Linked DNA regions of Homo sapiens: regions 2, 3, 4, 5, 6 and 7 are each linked to region 1. The links are contacts of gene promoters, found by promoter capture Hi-C in blood cells and fetal thymus (Javierre and others, 2016). All regions are on one chromosome and are shown on one strand. The core of a region is centred on a gene start or on the middle of the fragment in contact, and the rest is flanking DNA. Distances in the headings are between cores, read along the strand shown.

What was found. Contacts are between HindIII fragments. The CHiCAGO score rates a contact against its expected background, and 5 or more counts as called.
Region 2: a fragment that was not itself captured here is called in contact with the fragment with the promoter of SGO1 in region 1 in 2 of 17 cell types (total CD4 T cells and naive CD8 T cells); the score reaches 9.1 in total CD4 T cells.
Region 3: a contact is called between a fragment that was not itself captured here and the fragment with the promoter of SGO1 in region 1, in 1 of 17 cell types (fetal thymus). The highest score is 7.4, in fetal thymus.
Region 4: a contact is called between the fragment with the promoter of NR1D2 here and the fragment with the promoter of SGO1 in region 1, in 6 of 17 cell types (naive CD8 T cells, naive CD4 T cells, activated CD4 T cells and 3 more). The highest score is 10.5, in naive CD8 T cells.
Region 5: a fragment that was not itself captured here is called in contact with the fragment with the promoter of SGO1 in region 1 in 1 of 17 cell types (fetal thymus); the score reaches 7.7 in fetal thymus.
Region 6: the fragment with the promoter of OXNAD1 here is called in contact with the fragment with the promoter of SGO1 in region 1 in 4 of 17 cell types (fetal thymus, monocytes, total CD4 T cells and 1 more); the score reaches 14.3 in fetal thymus.
Region 7: a contact is called between a fragment that was not itself captured here and the fragment with the promoter of SGO1 in region 1, in 1 of 17 cell types (fetal thymus). The highest score is 6.5, in fetal thymus.

Annotation. Positions count from the first base shown.
Region 1 is chr3:20,184,918-20,187,617 of GRCh38, forward strand. SGO1 (shugoshin 1) reads right to left here and starts at 1,289. Exons shown (of 8, transcript NM_001199251.3): 1 at 1,031-1,289. It overlaps SGO1-AS1 (SGO1 antisense RNA 1), which reads left to right. Exons shown (of 4, transcript NR_132785.1): 4 at 1,058-1,198. RefSeq lists enhancers at 1,007-1,686, 1,707-1,766. The HindIII fragment of the contact is 754 bases long and covers 813-1,566 here.
Region 2 is chr3:23,961,632-23,964,331 of GRCh38, forward strand. It overlaps NR1D2 (nuclear receptor subfamily 1 group D member 2), which reads left to right. Exons shown (of 8, transcript NM_005126.5): 5 at 346-974. Among named protein-coding and RNA genes, the nearest start is that of NR1D2, 18 kb to the left of the region's middle. The HindIII fragment of the contact is 534 bases long and covers 1,016-1,549 here.
Region 3 is chr3:15,595,533-15,598,232 of GRCh38, forward strand. It overlaps HACL1 (2-hydroxyacyl-CoA lyase 1), which reads right to left. Exons shown (of 17, transcript NM_012260.4): 3 at 852-892. Among named protein-coding and RNA genes, the nearest start is that of HACL1, 4.7 kb to the right of the region's middle. The HindIII fragment of the contact is 4,835 bases long and covers 1-2,700 here.
Region 4 is chr3:23,943,846-23,946,545 of GRCh38, forward strand. It overlaps NR1D2 (nuclear receptor subfamily 1 group D member 2), which reads left to right and starts at 1,441. Exons shown (of 8, transcript NM_005126.5): 1 at 1,441-1,749. The coding sequence starts at 1,734. It overlaps LOC124909354 (a long non-coding RNA gene), which reads right to left and starts at 1,335. Exons shown (of 2, transcript XR_007095845.1): 1 at 1-1,335. It also overlaps a transcript of NKIRAS1 not described here. RefSeq lists silencers at 1,305-2,494, 1,991-2,532. The HindIII fragment of the contact is 14,696 bases long and covers 1-2,700 here.
Region 5 is chr3:15,201,668-15,204,367 of GRCh38, forward strand. It overlaps the pseudogene COL6A4P1. Among named protein-coding and RNA genes, the nearest start is that of CAPN7, 3.2 kb to the right of the region's middle. RefSeq lists an enhancer at 1,100-1,149. The HindIII fragment of the contact is 163 bases long and covers 1,370-1,532 here.
Region 6 is chr3:16,263,789-16,266,488 of GRCh38, forward strand. It overlaps OXNAD1 (oxidoreductase NAD binding domain containing 1), which reads left to right and starts at 1,424. Exons shown (of 9, transcript NM_138381.5): 1 at 1,424-1,717. DPH3 (diphthamide biosynthesis 3) reads right to left here and starts at 1,155. Exons shown (of 3, transcript NM_206831.3): 1 at 981-1,155; 2 at 367-441. The coding sequence starts at 1,088. RefSeq lists an enhancer at 987-1,296. The HindIII fragment of the contact is 2,642 bases long and covers 1,322-2,700 here.
Region 7 is chr3:15,860,893-15,863,592 of GRCh38, forward strand. All of the region lies in intron 1 of LOC107986064 (a long non-coding RNA gene), which reads left to right. Among named protein-coding and RNA genes, the nearest start is that of MIR563, 12 kb to the right of the region's middle. The HindIII fragment of the contact is 497 bases long and covers 1,078-1,574 here.

The sequences.
Region 1 (2,700 bases), core at 39-2,538:
TAAAATTGCAAAAAAAAAAGACTTGTTTCCAATAACAATCTATGCACAGAATTTTCACTACAAAGGATATCTTCATCTCCTCTACGATAGTCAAATATTTTCCTAAACCTTACACTTAATCTTGAGTATTTCCTCCAGGCCTTATTTTCCTCTATGCAGTGTCTGGAATCTTAAATATAGGTATTGTAGATACCACTTAAGAACTTTCTTTCTACCAAGGTATATACAATATGTACTGGGAGGTTCCTAGCAGAGATAGGGTAGCTATTTTTAAAAGCACGAACGGTAAAGGGGTTGTTTTACACAATTAAGTTAGAATTGGAGATGTTTGAGAGTCATACAGATTAAGTAACGGATCTAGTTTAGTTAAGGTATTTTAAAGGCAAAGCCTTACCTAAAAAGCTTTCGTTATTACTTTTAATCAAGTTAAAAATCACAAAAGAAACTTGCCATATCAAAAGTTTTATATCCTGTCTAAATAAGGCGATGGTTATTAGCAGGGGGTGTGGTAGACAGAAGGGATGAAAGCAAAGACAGACCACAGCGCGAGATGACGGTCTCAATCTGTACAGTACTCGTGTAAGCGCTCTGGATTTAAAGAACCTAGCATATTTGATCTCCGTCCATAATTCTCCAATTAGTCCTGCTGCGAAGACAGCCAGGTAGGATACTAGTCAGTGCCGGCCTCTCCAGGGTAAGTGAGGAAGAGAATGGCCTGGACAAGGAGGACGTCAACGGTATCACGCTGCACAAAGAACTGCTGTCAATTTTCTTGTGTCCTTACGTTGAGCCAGGCTTTTAGCTATTGTAAAAGCTTTATTTGCACATCACTTAATCTACACAATTTTGCAAAGTAGGAAATTAGGGTCTCCATGGAAGCCGGAACATCTGAAAGCGCAGATCGAGTGGCTGAACGGCGAAAAGCGCGGCGAGTGGGACTCCACGGCCCGAGCTTTCGGCCACCGAATTTAGAATGATACTGAAAACCGAAGGGAAGTCAAACAGGGATCACTACGCCCTTGTTTCGCACCTTAAAACCTACTTCTTCCTCTTTCAGGGACTCCAGGAAGGCCGGGGGGAGGTGGGGCTGGCGGAAGTGGACGCGGCGACCCTCCTGCCGCAGGCGCGTCCAGAACGATACCTTGGCCACTACTTCTGCAACAGCTATCTTCCTCCTCCTCACATTTCAAGGCTCTTCGAAGCTCTCCAGCCACGGCTAGCCCCGCGCACTGGGCCCTCCAGGACCGTACCACCGTCCGCCGTCGCCTGGAACTACCGCCGCCACATTCGAAATTTTCCGCCTCGCTCCTCCATTGGTTGGCTGGGAGGCGGTCACGTGGCGCAGGATGCACCCAACACCACCGTCGCAGGCAGAGTCCCGCCCCGCCAGGCGACGTCACGTGACGCACATTCGCTCAAGTCCACATCCGGGCATCCACCTGGCCCTGGGGCGGAGCCTGCGGTCGGGTCTCGGCGACCCGCCGGGACTTTCTAATCAGAGTCGTGGGGATTTTACGGGTGGAGTTACTCCGAAACCTTTAAGGCCGAGTGTGATAGGTAGTTCAAAGCTTCCTGTTTCTTCAGTCTGACAGCTTCAAATGTCCCGGGTTGTGCTCAAAGCCTCCCTCTTGTGAGAAGAATCTCTTTGGTTGCCTGTTAAAGCGGTCAGCCAGCTTGCAACACGGAAGCAGCTTTTAGAGGAATTAAAACCAAAACAAGGAGCAAATTCTGGATTAAAAAGGTATTAGGGAAACTGCAGATACCTGAAAATTCTAGCTCCATGTTTCTCTTTGCCGGCTATCTCTGGCTCTTTAACTCTTCTCGAGAAATGGCACCAACATCCATCCAGTTACCGACTAGAAGCCTGAGAAATCGTCCTTAATGATTATTTATCCTCTCTTAACCTTTGCCCGTCCAGTCGGTCACACGATCTTCTCAACTCTGCTTTCCAAGTTTCTCTCATGCCCATCTTTTTCCCCCCAATCCAGCTTCCAGCCTAATCTCATTCCCTAAATTGCACTAGTACCCACTCTGACCGCAGACTCCACTCCCTATATTCTTCATAGATTAATATTTTTACAAAACAAGTATCAAATAGGAAACTTTACAATGGCTCCCTATTGCATTTAAGGTGAATTTCAAACTCCTTTAAGATATTTTGTCCTTAAAGAGCCCCATGATTCCTGGTTCCATCACTTGTACATTTTCTTTAATTTTCTTAAAATTCTTGCCACTTTTGCCAATGCTGTTCTGTCAAGAACACTCTTTCCCTTGGCCGAACTTACTCCTATGTATACTGAAGTTTCACTGTACAGATGAATTCTTCCAGAAAGACTTATCTACCCCTAAAGCCCCTGAGTGTCTGCTTTACACTTTCTTAGTGCCCTGCATTTTCCCCTTGGTATTCCTTGTGACACTGACTTGTCGTTCATTGCCTGTTTCTTGAAGTTGAATAAGGGCAGGAACTACATCTGCTTTGTTCATAGCTAAATTGTCAGCATCTCGTTGCAATTTGAAGTAAGTAGTAAATATTCACTGGGACAATAAAGGAACAAATAAATGAAAACGAAACAAATGTTTTGAATCTAGGCATTCTTTATGAAGGTGTGTTGTTGTTTTTTAAAGGTAGCTAACACATGCTTGCTCTAGTCTGGGTACCCATCCTGGCTTGAGTGGAAGAGGCTGAAACACCCTTCTCCA
Region 2 (2,700 bases), core at 33-2,532, 3.8 Mb after region 1:
GTGGTCCACCTGCCTCAGCCTCCCAAAGTGCTGTGATTAGAAGCATGAGCTACTGCACCCATCCGAATTTCCTATTTCTTTTCTTAGACTTTGCTTATAAAATACCTAGGAGGTAGATGTCCTTAACTTTGTTGTGGGGGGAAAATAGAAAATTTTCTCTCCCTCTCCTACTTCCTTTGGTGCATCAAGACCAGCAAGTTTAGAAAAATGTGGACCAGAGACATGTAGACTCATTCTTTATATGTATGACTAGAGGCCATAACTGTTGGATAATTTTGTGTTATTCTTTTATACAAAACAGGTCTTATTTAGAATATAGACGTTAAATATCTTTTTCTTCAATAGCTGTTCGGTTTGGTCGTATTCCTAAGCGTGAAAAACAGAGGATGCTAATTGAAATGCAAAGTGCAATGAAGACCATGATGAACAGCCAGTTCAGTGGTCACTTGCAAAATGACACATTAGTAGAACATCATGAACAGACAGCCTTGCCAGCCCAGGAACAGCTGCGACCCAAGCCCCAACTGGAGCAAGAAAACATCAAAAGCTCTTCTCCTCCATCTTCTGATTTTGCAAAGGAAGAAGTGATTGGCATGGTGACCAGAGCTCACAAGGATACCTTTATGTATAATCAAGAGCAGCAAGAAAACTCAGCTGAGAGCATGCAGCCCCAGAGAGGAGAACGGATTCCCAAGAACATGGAGCAATATAATTTAAATCATGATCATTGCGGCAATGGGCTTAGCAGCCATTTTCCCTGTAGTGAGAGCCAGCAGCATCTCAATGGACAGTTCAAAGGGAGGAATATAATGCATTACCCAAATGGTCATGCCATTTGTATTGCAAATGGACATTGTATGAACTTCTCCAATGCTTATACTCAAAGAGTATGTGATAGAGTTCCGATAGATGGATTTTCTCAGAATGAGAACAAGAATAGTTACCTGTGCAACACTGGAGGAAGAATGCATCTGGTATAGTGAAATCGATTTTTTGCTTACATTGTATCAGGGAAAGCTTTGAAAATTTTCTTTTATTCGGGAGATATGCTAACTTGGGGGGATGGTGTCAGGAAACCTAAGAAATTTACAGACTTAATTTTGTACAGTATTTTAGGTCAAATAATTTTAATAAACATCTTCTGATGAATGACCTAATTTCACACCCAGCTAGGTACAAGCATGTGATTTGATTGATCTGAGATTGGGATTAGGATTTTATGTAAAATATGATTCATGCAGAATTGGTCCTTTAATTCTTGGAAATCCCTTTGAAAATTTAAGCATTCTGGTTAATTAGTACCTTACTAGCTTTGGGATTTTCTCAAAGGGCCGAACTTTTCGCTTGCCATAGTTAGAAATTCTTTGATTTCTATAGAAAGAGGTTTTTTTTTTTTTTAACCATTATTATGCAAGAAGGTCTTTGGATATAGAACATAGATGTTTTATTGTTTGATAAATTTAGGAGTATTTTAATTTCATAGGCTAATTTCTAAGGATTTTCTCAGACTTCATCTTATGAGATGACTTAATGTTGGTCATATCATTGAAGCTTTTCTATTTTTCCATCAAATACGACATTCTACATCAAAGTACAGTGTTCATATTCAGCCAAAATTTCACCAAAAACAGCAGTACCACACCATTTCCAGTTTAAACCATGAAGTCCTTTGATAGTGCTTGGTATTTTCTACTGACAGGTAATTAAAGTCGTCTTTTTCATTTTCAAAATAGTTGACTCTACCTCAATCTTCATTAAAATTTTTGTTGTCACTTGGAGTTATTTGATTCTGTGGACCTTATGTTAGGCTAAGTCGTTGCTTTTTTGTTTTTTTTTTTGAGACATTCTTGCTCTGTTGCCCAGGCTGGAGTGCGGTGGCGCGACCTCAGCTCATTGCAACCTCCACCTCTTGGGTTCAAGCAATTCTCATGCCTCAACCTCCCAAGTAGTTGGGATTACAGGCATGCATCACCATGCCTGGCTAATTTTTGTATTTTCAGTAGAGACAGGTTTCACCACGTTGGCCAGGCTGGTCTTGAATTCCTGGCCTCAAGTGATTCACCCACCTCGGCCTCCCAAAGTGCTGGGATTACAGGCATGAGTCACCACGCCTGGCCAAGTGGCTGCCTTAATGAAGGAAAAATCTGTGGGCATTTTGGTTCTGATTTCATGATATTCTCTATGGTTTTGTAATCATCCCATTCCTAGATTTTGTATGGATTTAGTGAAAATTTAAAGGCTGATTTTACTAATAGAATATACAGGTGTGTTTCATCATCTTTTTGGTGTTTTTTTTTTTTTTTTAATAACTTCTTGGCTTCCTATTTTCCCTCACGCAGTCGTCATTTAGAAGACACACCTGTATCTGCAGTCCTTGTTTCCTGATTGAACAAGTAGAAGTCAGTGATCACAGCATTGTTTTTGAAATAAATGGGCAGTGACTTTTTTTTCTTTTTTTTTTTTTCGAGACGGAGTCTCACTCTGTCACCCAGGCTGGAGTGCAGTGGTATGATCTCGGCTCACTGCAACCTCCGCCTCCCGGTTCAAGTGATTCTTCTGCCTCAGCCTCCTGAGTAGCTGGGACTACAGGCGCAAGCCACCACGTCTGGCTAATTTTTTTAATTGTTGGTAGAGACAGGGTTTCACCATGTTGGCCAGGCTAGTCTCGAACTCCTGACCTTGTGATTCGCCTGCCTCGGT
Region 3 (2,700 bases), core at 89-2,588, 4.6 Mb before region 1:
GAAAAAACTGGAAGAAAATGACCAATTCTTAACAGTTCTGAGATCATAGGTGATTTTCTTCATCTTTTTTCCTTTTTTTTTTTTTTTTTTTTTTTGAGACGGAGTCTCACTCTATCACCCAGGCTGGAGTGCAGTGGCGCAATCTCAGCTCACTGCAACCTCCGCCTCCTGGGTTCAAGCCGATTCTCCTGCCTCAGCCTCCCGAGTAGCTGGGATTACAGACGCATGCCACCACACCAGGGTGATTTTTGTATTTTTAGTAGAGATGGTGTTTCACCATGTTGGCCAAGCTGGTCTCAAACTCCTGACCTCAGGTGATCCACCTGCCTCAGCCTCCCAAAGTGCTGGGATTACAGGCGTGACCCACCGTGCCTAGTCGATTTTCATTTTCTTCTTTGTGCTTTCTATATTTTCCAAGTTTTCCAAAATGGACATTTTAAAAATGTATTAATTTTTAATAATAAAAAGGGGGTGGTAGTTAGGTAACATGGATACACACTAAAAAATCAGAACGTGTGGAACAGCTCTCAACAGTCACATTTTGAACCAAGCATTTTTGTATTAAGTGTGCTGGGGTAGTTGTGAGATCCAAGACAAGGTATCATACATCAACTCACTATCTGATCACCAGTGATTCACTCTACAAAATGGCAATGTGTTCCACTCTGAAACACTTCTGGTATCATTATTCTTTTGATGTGGTCCTCAGAGAGTTTTAAATGTTTTTTATCCTTTGTTATTTAATATATTTTTCTATAATCTTTCCAAATGAACTCATCCTTCAGCTGAAAGACGTAATAGTTCTACCCCAAAATATTAAAGTAATTGAAGTGAAACAAATTTTAGTTTACCTGCTTGTCAGATATCCAATCGCGGAGGCAGCATAACAAGCCTACGAGAAAACAACACTGGGACTTGAGCATATTGGGATCCTTATAGTACATTTATGACAGCAACTTACTATTAAATAATAGACAAGAACATAGTGGTAAAGGCAGAATTAAAATATTTCCAACCTTAGTAATAAATGTTCTACACATAAATTTCAAATAATGGTTATCTAAATTTTAGTTTTTCAGGAAATTTGTTCATATGTATGTTATTCAAAACATCCTCTTACAATTGCTTAAATATCTGCAGGATCAATAGGAATGTCCTCTTTTATTAACAATATTGGTAATTTGTTTTCTTTCTTTTATTCTTCATCAGTCTCATGAGGGGTTTATCAAATTTATCCATCTTTTCAAAGAACAAATTTTTTTAGTTCTTCGAAAATTTTTGTTGGTTTTTCTCTATTGTTTGTTTTCTATTTCATTGATTTCTGTTCTTGTATTTATTATTTCAGTCATTTTGAATTTGATTTGCTTTTCTTTTTCTAGCTTCTTAAAATACAAATTTAGAACACTGGTTTTTAATTTTCTTTACTAATAATTTGTTTAAAATGATTCCAAGAACTGCTTTAGTTATAGGTTACAAGTTTGAGTTGCATCTTTTCATTATCATTCTATTCAAAATATTTTCTACTTTCCATTGTGATTTCTTCTTCAACCCATTGGTTAATTAGGATCTGTAGTGATACCTCCTTTTTCATTCCTGACATTGGTAATCTGTTTTCTCTTTTATTCTCAATCAGTCTATCTTGAAGTTTATTCATTTTGTTAATCTTTTCAAATATTTACAAAATACCAAAAAGTATGTTGCTTAATTTCCAAAGGTCTGAGATTCTTTTTAGTGATCTCTTATTGAGTTCCACTTTACTTCCACATGGTCAGGTGACATATACTGCACGCTTTCAATCCTTGGCGATTTATTGAGATTTCCTTTATGGCCTGCATATGGATAGTTTTTACCTTGTAACTCTACTTCAGCTCATAATCAGGAAGAGAGGGGGCACTAAATTAAATGCACACAAGATAACCTGGGAAAATGCTGAGTGCTCTCTCAAATTCTTCTTAGTCTGGGACATCATTTTTTTCCCAGTATTATTTCTTCTCATTTCTTTAGAAATAATAATGAATTGCGTATTTCCTAGCCTTCATTCAGCTTTAAATGAAGTAGTATACTGTCTTAAAGAACTCCACATTAACGACATAAATGTGGAAAAAAAAAAAAAGGAAATGTTTATGGATCATAATCTTAACTGGCTCTACTATCATACACCCACTGAGAACCTGCACAAAGACTCTGCTCTTTTCCTGTGTCGCTATTCTCTACTGGCCCCATCTCTCTTTCCTTTTGCACATAAGGCCAAATTCACATTAGGAGAATAAGACAACTCCTAAGAAATGCAGGCATGTAAATACCTGCTGCAATAAGAACACTTTATTTAGACACCCAAAAGAATTGCCCACTTATGATAGCTAGGTAAGAAATGTTGCTAGGCAATGCAAAATATACAACAACACGTAACAAAAAGTATATTCCTCTGGTAGGAAATGTCAAAAGTTGAGAGGTAACTGTTTTGTTTTGTTTTATTTTGTTTTGTTTTGTTTTTTTTTTTTGAGACAGAGTTTCGGAGTTTCGCTCTTGTTGCCCAGGCTGGAGTGCAATGATGCAATATTGGCTCACGGCAACCTCCACCTCCCAGGTTCAAGCAATTCTCCTGCCTCAGCTTCCCGAGCAGCTGGCATTACAAACATGCACCACCACGCCTGGCTAATTTTATATTTTTAGAAACGGGGTTTCTCCATGTTGGTCAGG
Region 4 (2,700 bases), core at 191-2,690, 3.8 Mb after region 1:
GGACCCACATCTGTGCAGGGCGAAGCAGGTCAGGTTAAGTCGTTGAATTTTTTCAAAGTGTAACACGAAGCCATTGGAGGGTTTTCAGCAGAGTAATCAGATCTTATTTACATTTTAAAAATAATACTTTGACTGCTGGGGAGAAGTGACTGTAGGAGGACCCAAGAAGCACTCTCCTAGTTAGGGAACCAGAGCAGTAGCTGAGGCAAGAGATAATGGTTTGCTCTAGCAATACCAACGGTGAGAAACAGGGATTGAACATATTTTGAAGGTAGAATAGCTCAGACTTGCTAATGGATTGAATGGAGAATAAAAGGCTGTGAGAGTGTTAGGAGAGAAACATAATTTTGCTGGCTTCAGGAACTTGCAGATTTACCAAAACAGTAAATATTGATATGGTGAAGAAACCTGGGGGGTGGGGAAATAGGGTGTTGCACATGTAAATATGTCTTCCACGTGACATTTTCCCCACCTTCTATAGTGAAGAATTTCAGAGCAAACTGGAAAGAGTTTTACAAGCAACACCCATATCCCCATCGCCTAAGTTTAACATCTTACCATATCATCTATTCATGCCTCTATCAGCCCATCTTACTTCAGTAATGCGTTTAAATTGCGGGCATCAATGCACTTTCCTCAGAATTCACCTCAGCACGCATACAATTTATGTCTAGCTTTTTTCTTTTGATCTAAAATTTACATTCAAGGTGAAACGCCCAGATCTTGACTGCACATTAGCTGAGTTCGGACACACGCGTACACCCGTCTAAAATCTGAGATGCAAAAAAGCGGCATAATCAAACGGGCTGCTGGATGTAGGAATCTGGAGATTAGAAGAGAGGTCTTGGCTTGAAATATAAATCTGGGAATCACAAGAACATAGGTCTACTTAAGCTATGAGATTGGATAAAATCACCTAGAGGGTGCAGAGGGAAAGGGAAGGGTCTGTGCCCTCAGAGACCAGCGTTTGGAGGTCGGTCGGGTGGGAGCGGGGGGTGGGGGTGGGGGGCGCAAGGGTTGAGCAAGCCCGAACCAGCCGGCCCAGCCGGGGTCCTGAGAATCACCCTTGCTCGGCGCCAAGCCACCGCTTTGACCTAAGAGCCACCAGGTTGGGGGGCAGGGCGTGGAGAGGACTCCCGGCCAGAGGCGGGAAAGGCAGCCGGGAGGAGAGGAAAGAGGAGGAGGAGGGGAGGAATATGCGGCGGAGGGAAACGGAGAAGAGGTTTACGGCACGGAGGGGAAAAACGAAGGAAGAGGAGGGGCTCGGCAAGGAGAAGGAAGGGGAGAAGGGGGAAGCGCAGGAGAAAAGGGTAGCCGGGGAGCCGGGAAGCGGGCGGGAGGGAGGGGAGCGGCGGGGCGGAGGTCGCCGCAGCGGCCGGCCGAGGGCGGGCGGAGGGAGGGGGTGTGTGCGCGGGTCACATGGTCGCGGCTGCCCTCCCCGTCAGCCGCCCTCGCCGCCGCGGTGCGCTGGCTGCAGGAAGCCGCCGCGCCGCCGCTTTTGTTGTCAGGGACCCAGCGAGGAGCGCCGCTCGCCGGCCGCCGCCACCCTCTCTCGCTGCAGCCTGCTGTGCGCTGCACGGCCTGGGGCCCGGGAGCCCCGCCCGCTCTGCCCATGAGGGGGCCCCGCGACCACCGCTGCTTCCAGCCCGGGGCGGCGCGGCGCTGAGGCGGCGGCGGCGGCGCTGCCCCCTCTGCGGGAAGCGGGCGGCCCCGGCCGCCTCCGCGAGGGCACCATGGAGGTGAATGCAGGTAAGAACCGGACTGCGGCGGGTGGGGGATGGCCGGAGGGAGCGCTCAGAGCCCGCGGGGCACTTTGGGGGGCGGCGGCAGGGGGTGTCCCCATGGCCGGTGGGGCGGGGTGGGCTGCTGCGCGCCGCGTGTCCGCCTCTGGCTCGGTTCCCATCGCCCCCCGGGCCGCCCGGCGCCCGCCCTCTTGTCTCCCTGCAAAGCCGCAGCGCGGCCTGCCGGCGCCCGGCCCGGCCCCCCCCTCACATGGCCCGGCCGCGCGAGCCACGTGCGCGCTGTGTTTACGTTCGGCGGCGCGCGGGCGCCGGTTGGCTGGGCGGGCGCGTGACGCGGCATTACATAATGGGCGCTGAGGCGGCGGCGGCGGGCGGGGACACGTGAGGCCGCTCGGCTCCCTGACCCACATTCCCCGGGGCCGCAGGGACACGTGGGGGCGGGGGCGCGCGCGCGCGCGCTGGCTGGGAGCGCCGCAGCCTCCCGGGAGGCTCCGCCCCTTTGGAAGCCTCGGGGCAGTGACGTCGCCGCGATTCCCTCCTCCCCCGCGGGGTTGCACACTGCGGAGGAGGCCGCGCGTGCGCGCCCGCTGAGCCCCCGCGGCGGGGCGTCCCCGAAGCGGGCGCTGACACCGCAGTGCACCGGACGCCGCACGCTCTTTTCGCGAGGTGACCCCAAGGCGCGGACCCCGCGCAAACCAAACGAACCGGCGCCTGGGGAGGCTGGTAGCTGCATACCTTGCAGATTCCGAGGAGGAAGTGCAGGACGAGGGCGTGCTGCAGGCCGGAGGAGGCGCCTCGGGGAAGGCGTGGGGCTTTCCCGAAGGGATACGCTCGAAGGAGCTCTGAGGTGCTTCGATCCCGAGCGACTCCCCGCAGACTGGGTAGCACCGCCCCTGTTAGGATGCCGTCTGTTTACAAAAAAAACCGTTTGCTCTAGGACGCGACCTGTCTCATACAC
Region 5 (2,700 bases), core at 201-2,700, 5.0 Mb before region 1:
TTGTCTCTTAGTACTTAGAAAAACATTTCACTGGCCAGGAGTGGTGGCTCACAATTGTAATCCCAGCACTTTGGGAGGCCGAGGCGGGTGGATCACCTGAGGTCAGCAGTTCGAGACGAGCCTGACCAACATGGTGAAACCCCATCTCTACTAAATACAAAAAACTAGCCGGGCGTGGTGCCGCATGCCTGTAATTCAAGCTACTTGGGAGGCTGAGGCAGGAGAACTGCTTGAACCCAGGAGGCGGAGGTTTCAGTGAGCTGAGATTGCACCATTGCACTCCAGCCTGGGCAACAAGAGTGAAAACTCTGTCAAAAAAAAAAAAAGGGGGAAAACATTTCACTTTATTTTTACTTAAAAGTCAGTATTTTTTACACCAAGATTTAAATTTCTGGCTTCTCTTGATTTAAAAAAATATATTGGACCTACGTTCCCTTGAACTGTCTAGAGCTAGTAGTAACTGCCCCAACTCACTTCTTCCTAAAATTTGCTTCTCAAATTTGCTCCATACCTTGCCTCAGGGATGGTGCTGTTATCTCTAAAGAGCCCCAGAGAGCCCTGGACTTGAAAATTATTGTGCTCTTCAGGGATTATGGTAGATATTTATTTATTTATTTTAGATGGAGTTTCGCTCTTGTTGCCCAGGCTGGAGTGCAATGGCGTGATCTCGGCTCACTGCAACCTCCGCCTCCTGGGTTCAAGCGATTCTCCTGTGTCAGACTCCTGAGTAGCTGGGATTACAGGCGCCCACCAAAATGCTTGGCTAATTTTTTGTGTTTTTAGTAGAGACAAGGTTTCACTATGTTGGCCAGGCTGGTCTCGAACTCCTGACTTCAGGTGATCCACCTGCCTCAGCCTCCCAAAGTGCTGGGATTATAACCTATGCCTCCCTGGTTCAAGCAATTCTCCTGCCTCAGCCTCCCAAGTAGCTGGGATTACAGGCACCTGCCACCATACCTGGCTAATTTTTTGTATTTTTAGTAGAGATGAAGTTTTGCCATGTTGGCCAGGCTGGTCTCGAACTCCTGACCTCGGGTGATCCACCCACCTCGGCCTCCCAAAGTGCTGAGATTACAGGTGTGAGCCACCACACCCGGCCATGGTAGATATTTTAATGAAATGTTTGTTGAAAGGATAAAGTTGTGACCACAAGCCCCTATGAGGTAACACCTAGCTGCAGTGCCACATATGAACACAAGGTGACAGTGTGCTCTCAGGAATCTGCATAAACCCAGCACAGTTGGTGAGGATCTGTAGTAAATAGGATGACTTGTCCCACCCAACTGTGAGAGAGGGCAACTACCAAAGACCAACAGCAACATAGCATGTGTCCTAGAGGGTCACAGGGGAAAAAACTAAGAAGGAAGGAAGCTTCAAGGCCAGGGATCCAGCACAGCAGAGATGGGACTGCAGGGAGGGAATTTAACTCACCCCTGTCTTTGCTGTCCTTAGCATGATCCACTCTTCCCCTGAGTGCTGAATTTCAAGGCCATGAAGCCATGGTCAAGAGACTTGACTGGGAACGGGCCTTAAGCTTTCAGTGACTCCCTTCTAAATCTAGAGCAGTGGTTCTCAAAGTGTGGTCTCTGCACCAGCAGCATCACTTGTCAGAATCTGCAGAAATGCAGATTCCCAGGCCCTGCCCAACCCTACTGACCCAGGCATTCTAGGATGGAGCCCAGAAACCTATATATAATCAGATCCCTGGGTGGTTCCAAAGCAGCTAAATGTGAGAAGCACAGCTCTAAAGTCTCATTTTCCATCTCTTCCCACAGCCACACCCAGTGAATCCCAATCCTCAAAATACACGGACCTCAACACTCCTGCCTCTAGTTGAGACTGAAACATCCATCTCTTCCTCTCCTGCTTTGCTCTTATTCTGCCTTTGGGACTCAACTCAAGCCACCTTTCTTCTGGAACACTGTGTTAGACTCCCCAAGCTGATTTAGGTAGTGCTCCTCCCAGCCTCTGCCTTCTCTCTTTTAGCAATTATTAAATGATGCTTTTAACTGTTGGCTGCTGAATGTCTTGCTCACCACAGTGTGAGCTGTCTTTACCTCCAGTGCCTGGCCAACAGAATTTTGCATATGTATTTAATGAAATAATAAACTACCATCATTTGGTTGGCAGCTTTAAAAAGGGTAATAACATCTTTTTCACCTACAGTAGAATTTTATATACACACATATCCTAACTTAATTTTATATACATATTTAAAATATATAGAATTAAATATAATCTTAATAGATTCCATATGTAATTATATGCAGATTATAAGCTCCCTGCAAGTCTAAATTTCAAAACTATGCTCTGCTGTTTCTGACATTTGTAGGACAGGCCAAGGAATTCAACAGTCAATAGCAATAGCCATTTAACCAAAGGGAAAAAAAAAACCAACAAGGAGCTTCCTGAGCAGGGGTGTGTGCAGACCAGTGCCCTCTCAATGTCTGTCTCCAGGTCTCATCCCTCTCTATGTCTGTCTCAGCTCTCGGTGGGGGAGGGCTCCCAAGCTGCAGGATGACGACATGTTGACTATGCAGCTCTGAGTGCTTAACATTGGACAAATTCCACTGTCACAGAGCTGGCCTAAGGTGGAGGTGGTACTGGACATTCTGGCAGGCATTCCACAAAGGCACATGTCGTGAGTCTCCACCACCAAGTTCTCAGAGTTTTTTGGATAATTGATGATCACAGAATACA
Region 6 (2,700 bases), core at 174-2,673, 3.9 Mb before region 1:
ACCATACAATTGTTCCCTTCAAAGTAAGTCTAGCAGCTCTAAACAATTTTAATTACATATTAAATAGAAGAGAAATATAAAAAATTGTCCACTAAAATAATCTATATACTTTCTATTTAATAAATAATAATTTTCACTAAAGCTAGATTTATCTCTAAAGCTAAAATAAATTACGTAATCTGAACTTTAAACGTTTTAATTTACTATTCGGCTGTTTATCAATGGTGTTTAAAACCTGCCTAAAAAAATACCGCACTTTACCTAGCACAATGAAACATTCTCCTGCACTCATCACTGACAAGCTGATCTAAGTCCTTGCCACTGACTTACAATACCCTTCCCCCGTTTTAAAATTATATCCCTTACTTTGTCATAAATCACTTTTATAATGAGAGAGCAGCTAGGACACGTTGCCACGTCTTCCCCATTCTCCAAATCTTCCTACAACGAAATCAAATACCATGTGGTCAGGATAGCTTCTCTTCGCCATCTCCTCCCCCAAACCTATCCCACCCCTAGATGCAAGTCTCTTGGTGGCTTGCCTTCCCCCCAAGGTGGGTGAGAACCCCAGGGCCTTCAGCGAGAAATGCCGACATCATTTTCCCCTAGAAGCGTCACTTAGGGGAAACACCTAGGAAGGTCAGGCGAGCTTCGGTCGCCCCAAAAGCCCTGGGAAACAAAAAACGAGTCCCCTCCTCGACAGAAATATCCCAGGTTGGGACCCTAAGGCAGGGATCGGGCAGAGAGACAGAGGCTCTCCGCCACCCTCTCCCTGACCTAATCTAAGGCCAGAACTGCGTGCCTACCGAGAGAGCTCAGGGCATTAGTTGGGGTGGGGGGACGCGGGAGGAGGAAGATTCAGCAACGGGAAAGAGGGCGTGGGTGACACAGCGCAGCAAAGGCTACCCAATGATGGAAGGAACGGGCGGAACCAAACTGCGCTTGCTTGGGTGAACCGCCGGGCGGGACCCTGAAGTTACCTTGGTGATGGAGAAGTTATCTCCACATGGGCAGGGATAGAAATACGTCTCCGAGTCCTCGTCATATTGGAAGTCCTCGATTTCCACCTCGTCATGAAACACTGCCATGGTCAGCGGGGGTGGCCGAAGGGGTAACGCCCCAGCAGTCCGAGGCCAGCTCCGAGGGTTTAACTTCGCCGGAACCGGCCTGGGCTCGGCATCATCAGGTCGCGCCGGGCAAGGACTAGCCCTTCCGGCGCATAGGCAATGACGCAACTCCGCCCTGCGCGGCCAAATGGATAACCGGTAGCGGTCACCATGGAGATGGCTGAACTAGGGGCGGAGACACTGGGAAGACTGAAAGCTTGCTCAGCGGGGTCGCGCACCGCTCCTCCTATTGGGCGGCAGCGACCAATAGAATGTGGGGCTCGCCCGCGCTGCTACGTCACGTCTGGGACCGCGGAGTATTCCAGGCGCCTGCAACTAAACGTGGCCGGGTCTGCAAGCTAGGTGCCAGCGGGGAAAGTTTCCCTGCTTCTTATCGTCTGCTTTAACGCCTTAAATAGCCCGCTGAAGGCTGCAGCAGGTGCTAGGTAGCAGCCTCCCGGCCCTCGGGAAAGGCGGGGTGGGGAGGCGAGAGCAGCTTAGCCTCCTCGACCTCCCTTCCTGGTGACGGACGAACAGTTCCCGTAGAATTTCGCTTCACCGAGTGACCTTGAGCCCAGGGCGACGGTCAGCTTGTTAATTCCTGGCTGCAGGTACATTCCGCTTCTTCCTCACCCCAGACGCCTTAAAATACCCTAAATTGTGTTGCTGAAAGGACCAAGCCCTGGAAGGCAGGGATTGAGTTCTAGTCTTCTGTTTGCCAGGCTTATAACATTATTAACGACGATGATTTTTAGTAATAGTAATAACATCACCTTTTATTATTGGGAAGTTATGTGCCAGCTATTGCACTAAGTGGAATTGTCAACTCTAGGAGTTTACATGTTATTCCATTTTATTAATCTTTAAACTGAGGTACAGAGAGTTGGGCATCTTGACTAAAATCATACACCTGGGAAATAATGAAGAGCTTGTCTGTCTCCAAAGCCCAGGAACAAATTACTTATGTGAGTACCAGTTTTTTCGTTGTGAAAGAAATGGTGTCAGTAGGCAGGTTTATCAGTGTGAGGCCTATGTATGCCTTGAAGCGAAATGCAGATAAAAGGCATTTTTGTCTTGAAAGCAGTGCTAGTGCCTGTTTTGGTAAAACCGATTACATTGGGTCTTACTTAATTACTAGGCATTTTAATATCTTAGTAGAGAAGAAATGCATTGTAGTGAAAAAGCACTTTCGAGAGAAGATCTGGGATCGGAATCTTGAGTTGTTGATTACCTCTGGCAACTGGATATTTACATTCTTTGGGCCTTATTTCCTCTTCTAAGAAAGGATTGGAGTAGAGATGATATAAGATCCTTTTTAGATGTAATGTTCCACTTTTGCACGGAAATTATGAGCTTTACTTGGTTCAGCAATGATATATAACATTTAGTTTACATTTACGTAACACATATACATAATATATCCCTGTGCACTTTTGAAGAAAACATTACAATGACTACTAAACTTTACATTTATTCCTAAAAGGGCGGATCACGAGGTCAGGAATACGAGACCAGCCTGACCAACATGATGAAGCCCCGTCTTTACTAAAAAATACACAAATTAGCCAGGTGTGGTGGTGTGCCTGTAATCCCA
Region 7 (2,700 bases), core at 76-2,575, 4.3 Mb before region 1:
ACTACATCAGTTGTGTCTCTTGGGATGGACTTTAGAGAATCGATTCGAGCCTAATGGCAGTCTAGAGAAATGGAGATCTTCGTCAGGACTATCAGATTATTGTAATGCTGCACTTATAACAAAAAACTTAGATTTAGCCACGCAAAAAAAAAAAAAAAAAAGAAAATAGAGTGCAAGATAAAAAAACACACCTGATTAACTGATAGTACGACCCTTCCAATATTCTTTGAGATATCCATGCTATGGTTCCATTGAAACAATTTCTTACCTAAAATTATGTCCCTCGTCATGATATTTTCTACTTAAAATGGAGGAATTCTCATAACTGTGATCTAACCGTCATAATGAGGCTAAAAAGGAAATCAAACTGCTCTTGCTTTGCATTCTCTTCAGTAGCTCCTTTACCCTTTATTTCAACTCCAGCAGATAAAATAGAGATACTATTTGTCACCCAACCCCTCCTTATCAGTTCAGTGAGGGTGAATGAGTTAATGTCGTGAAAGCACTTGAGTTCTCCAAAACAAAGATGTTGTGATAATATTACTACAGTACTTTGTGATTACAAGTTAGCTTTGTAAATAATTACCAATGTGCCATATCCAGTCGTGTTCTATCTTGGCCTAGGAGTGTTAGGATTTACCCTCATTTATAAGTAAGCCTGTTAAGCACTATGGATGTTGAGCCAGGAATTAATATAGCCCTCCTCTTCCCACCAAATAATCTCTCCTCTAGGTTAAATTTCTAGAATTTAAAAACACAATGAGAACCTGATTAGGAACATGGCAAAGATGATTTTTTGGGAGAATGTAAGTGTGTTTGAGAGTATGAATTTATGGACTAAATATGCATTTTAATAGATTTTGTGATTGAAGCTAATGAAACTTTCCAGGACTCTTTTGAAATTTTCTAATTAACAGTAATTAATGAAAATGTTTTATGATGTACCATCTGCATTATAGTAGGCATGGAGCTCTCCTTATAGATGATGCTTCACACCTAGCTGGGTTCTCACCCTTCTGCACCATGAGCACCATTTAACTTCTCTGTGTCTCAGTTTCAACATTCATAAAAAAACTAAGCTTAACATTTCCTGGCCTACTCATCTCACACCATCAGATAAGATAGTGATATGAAAGGCTGTGGAAAACTCTGAAGGACCATTACACTATATTATTATTATGACAGCAATTACAGGGTACTTCAAATGTTTGTGGGAAATAGAATTAAAGGTTAAAATTGAAATATAAACTTTATTTCTCAACATACGATTTGTCAAGTTCAAGATGATAAGCAATGATACCAGCCATTTAGTTCATCCTTAAAGAACCGAGGGTCCTGGGAATTCATGTCAATGCAGTCTTTTTTACAGTAATAATGTAATGTTAATAACAGAAGAAAAATGCATGCCTTTTAAAGAATTGTTAAGATTAGGAAACAAAAATAAGTCAGAAGGAGCCAAATTAGGAGTATGAGGTGGATGCCTAACGGGTTTCCATCAAAATCCTAACAAAATTGCCTTTGTTTGATGAGAGGAATGAGCAGGAGCATTATGTTGGAGAAGGACTCTCTAGTGAAGCTTTATTGAACATTTTCCTGCTAAAGCTTTTACTAACTTTCTCAAAAATACTTTCATAATAAGCAGATGTTATCATTCATTGTCCCTCCAGAAAGTCAAGCAAAATCTCTTGAACATCCCAAAAGACTGTTGCCAAGACCTTTGTTCTTGACTGATTTGCTTTTGCTTTGGCTGGACCCTTCCACCTGTTGGTAGCCATTGCTTTGATTGTGCTTTGTCTTCAGGATCATAATAGTAAGGCCATGTTTCATCTGTTAGAATTCTTTGAAGAAGTGTACGAGTGTTTTAGGGTCTTGACCCTACTTGTTTAAAATTTCTATTGACAGCCTTTCTCTTGCCTGAAACTGATCTGGGCCCAATGGTTTGGGCACCCATTGAGTTGAAAGTTTGCTCAACTTTAATTTTTCAGTCAGAATTATGTAAGCTTAACCAATTGAGATGTCTGTGGTGTTGGCTCTTGTTTGTGCGGTTAATCGTCAGTCTTCTTCAATTAGGATACAAACAAGATATTTTCCTCACAAATTGATGTGGATGGTCTGCCACTGTGGGCTTTATGTTTGACATCGTCTTGTCCCTTCTTCAAATGAGTTATCCATTTGTAAACTGCTTATTTTGGGGGGCAGGGGGCATTGTCCCCATAAACTATTCATAAAGCATCAATGATTTCACCATTCTTCCACCCAAGCTTCACCATAAACTTGAGGTTTGTTCTTGCCTCAATTTTAACAGAATTCATGTTGTTCTGATACGGGCTCTTTTCAAACTGACGTCTTATCCTTCTTAGTGCTGCAAACTGTATCCTGTTCAGATACATTATAACAAGTTAATATAAGTTTATGTTGGTGAAAAAAAATTGAAATCCAGCGAGACACAGTGGCTCATGGCTGTAATCCCAGCACTTTGGGAGGCCAAGACAGGTGGATCACTTGAGCCCAGGAATTTGAGACCAGCCTGGCCAATGTGGCCAAAGCCTGTTTCTACTAAAAATACAAAAATTAGCCAGATGTGGTGGTGCGTGCCTGTAATACCAATAATTTGGGTGGCTGAGGCACAAGAATCACTTCAGCCTGGGAGGCAGAAGTTGCAGTGAGCCAAGATGGCACTCCAGCCTGGACAATGGAGCA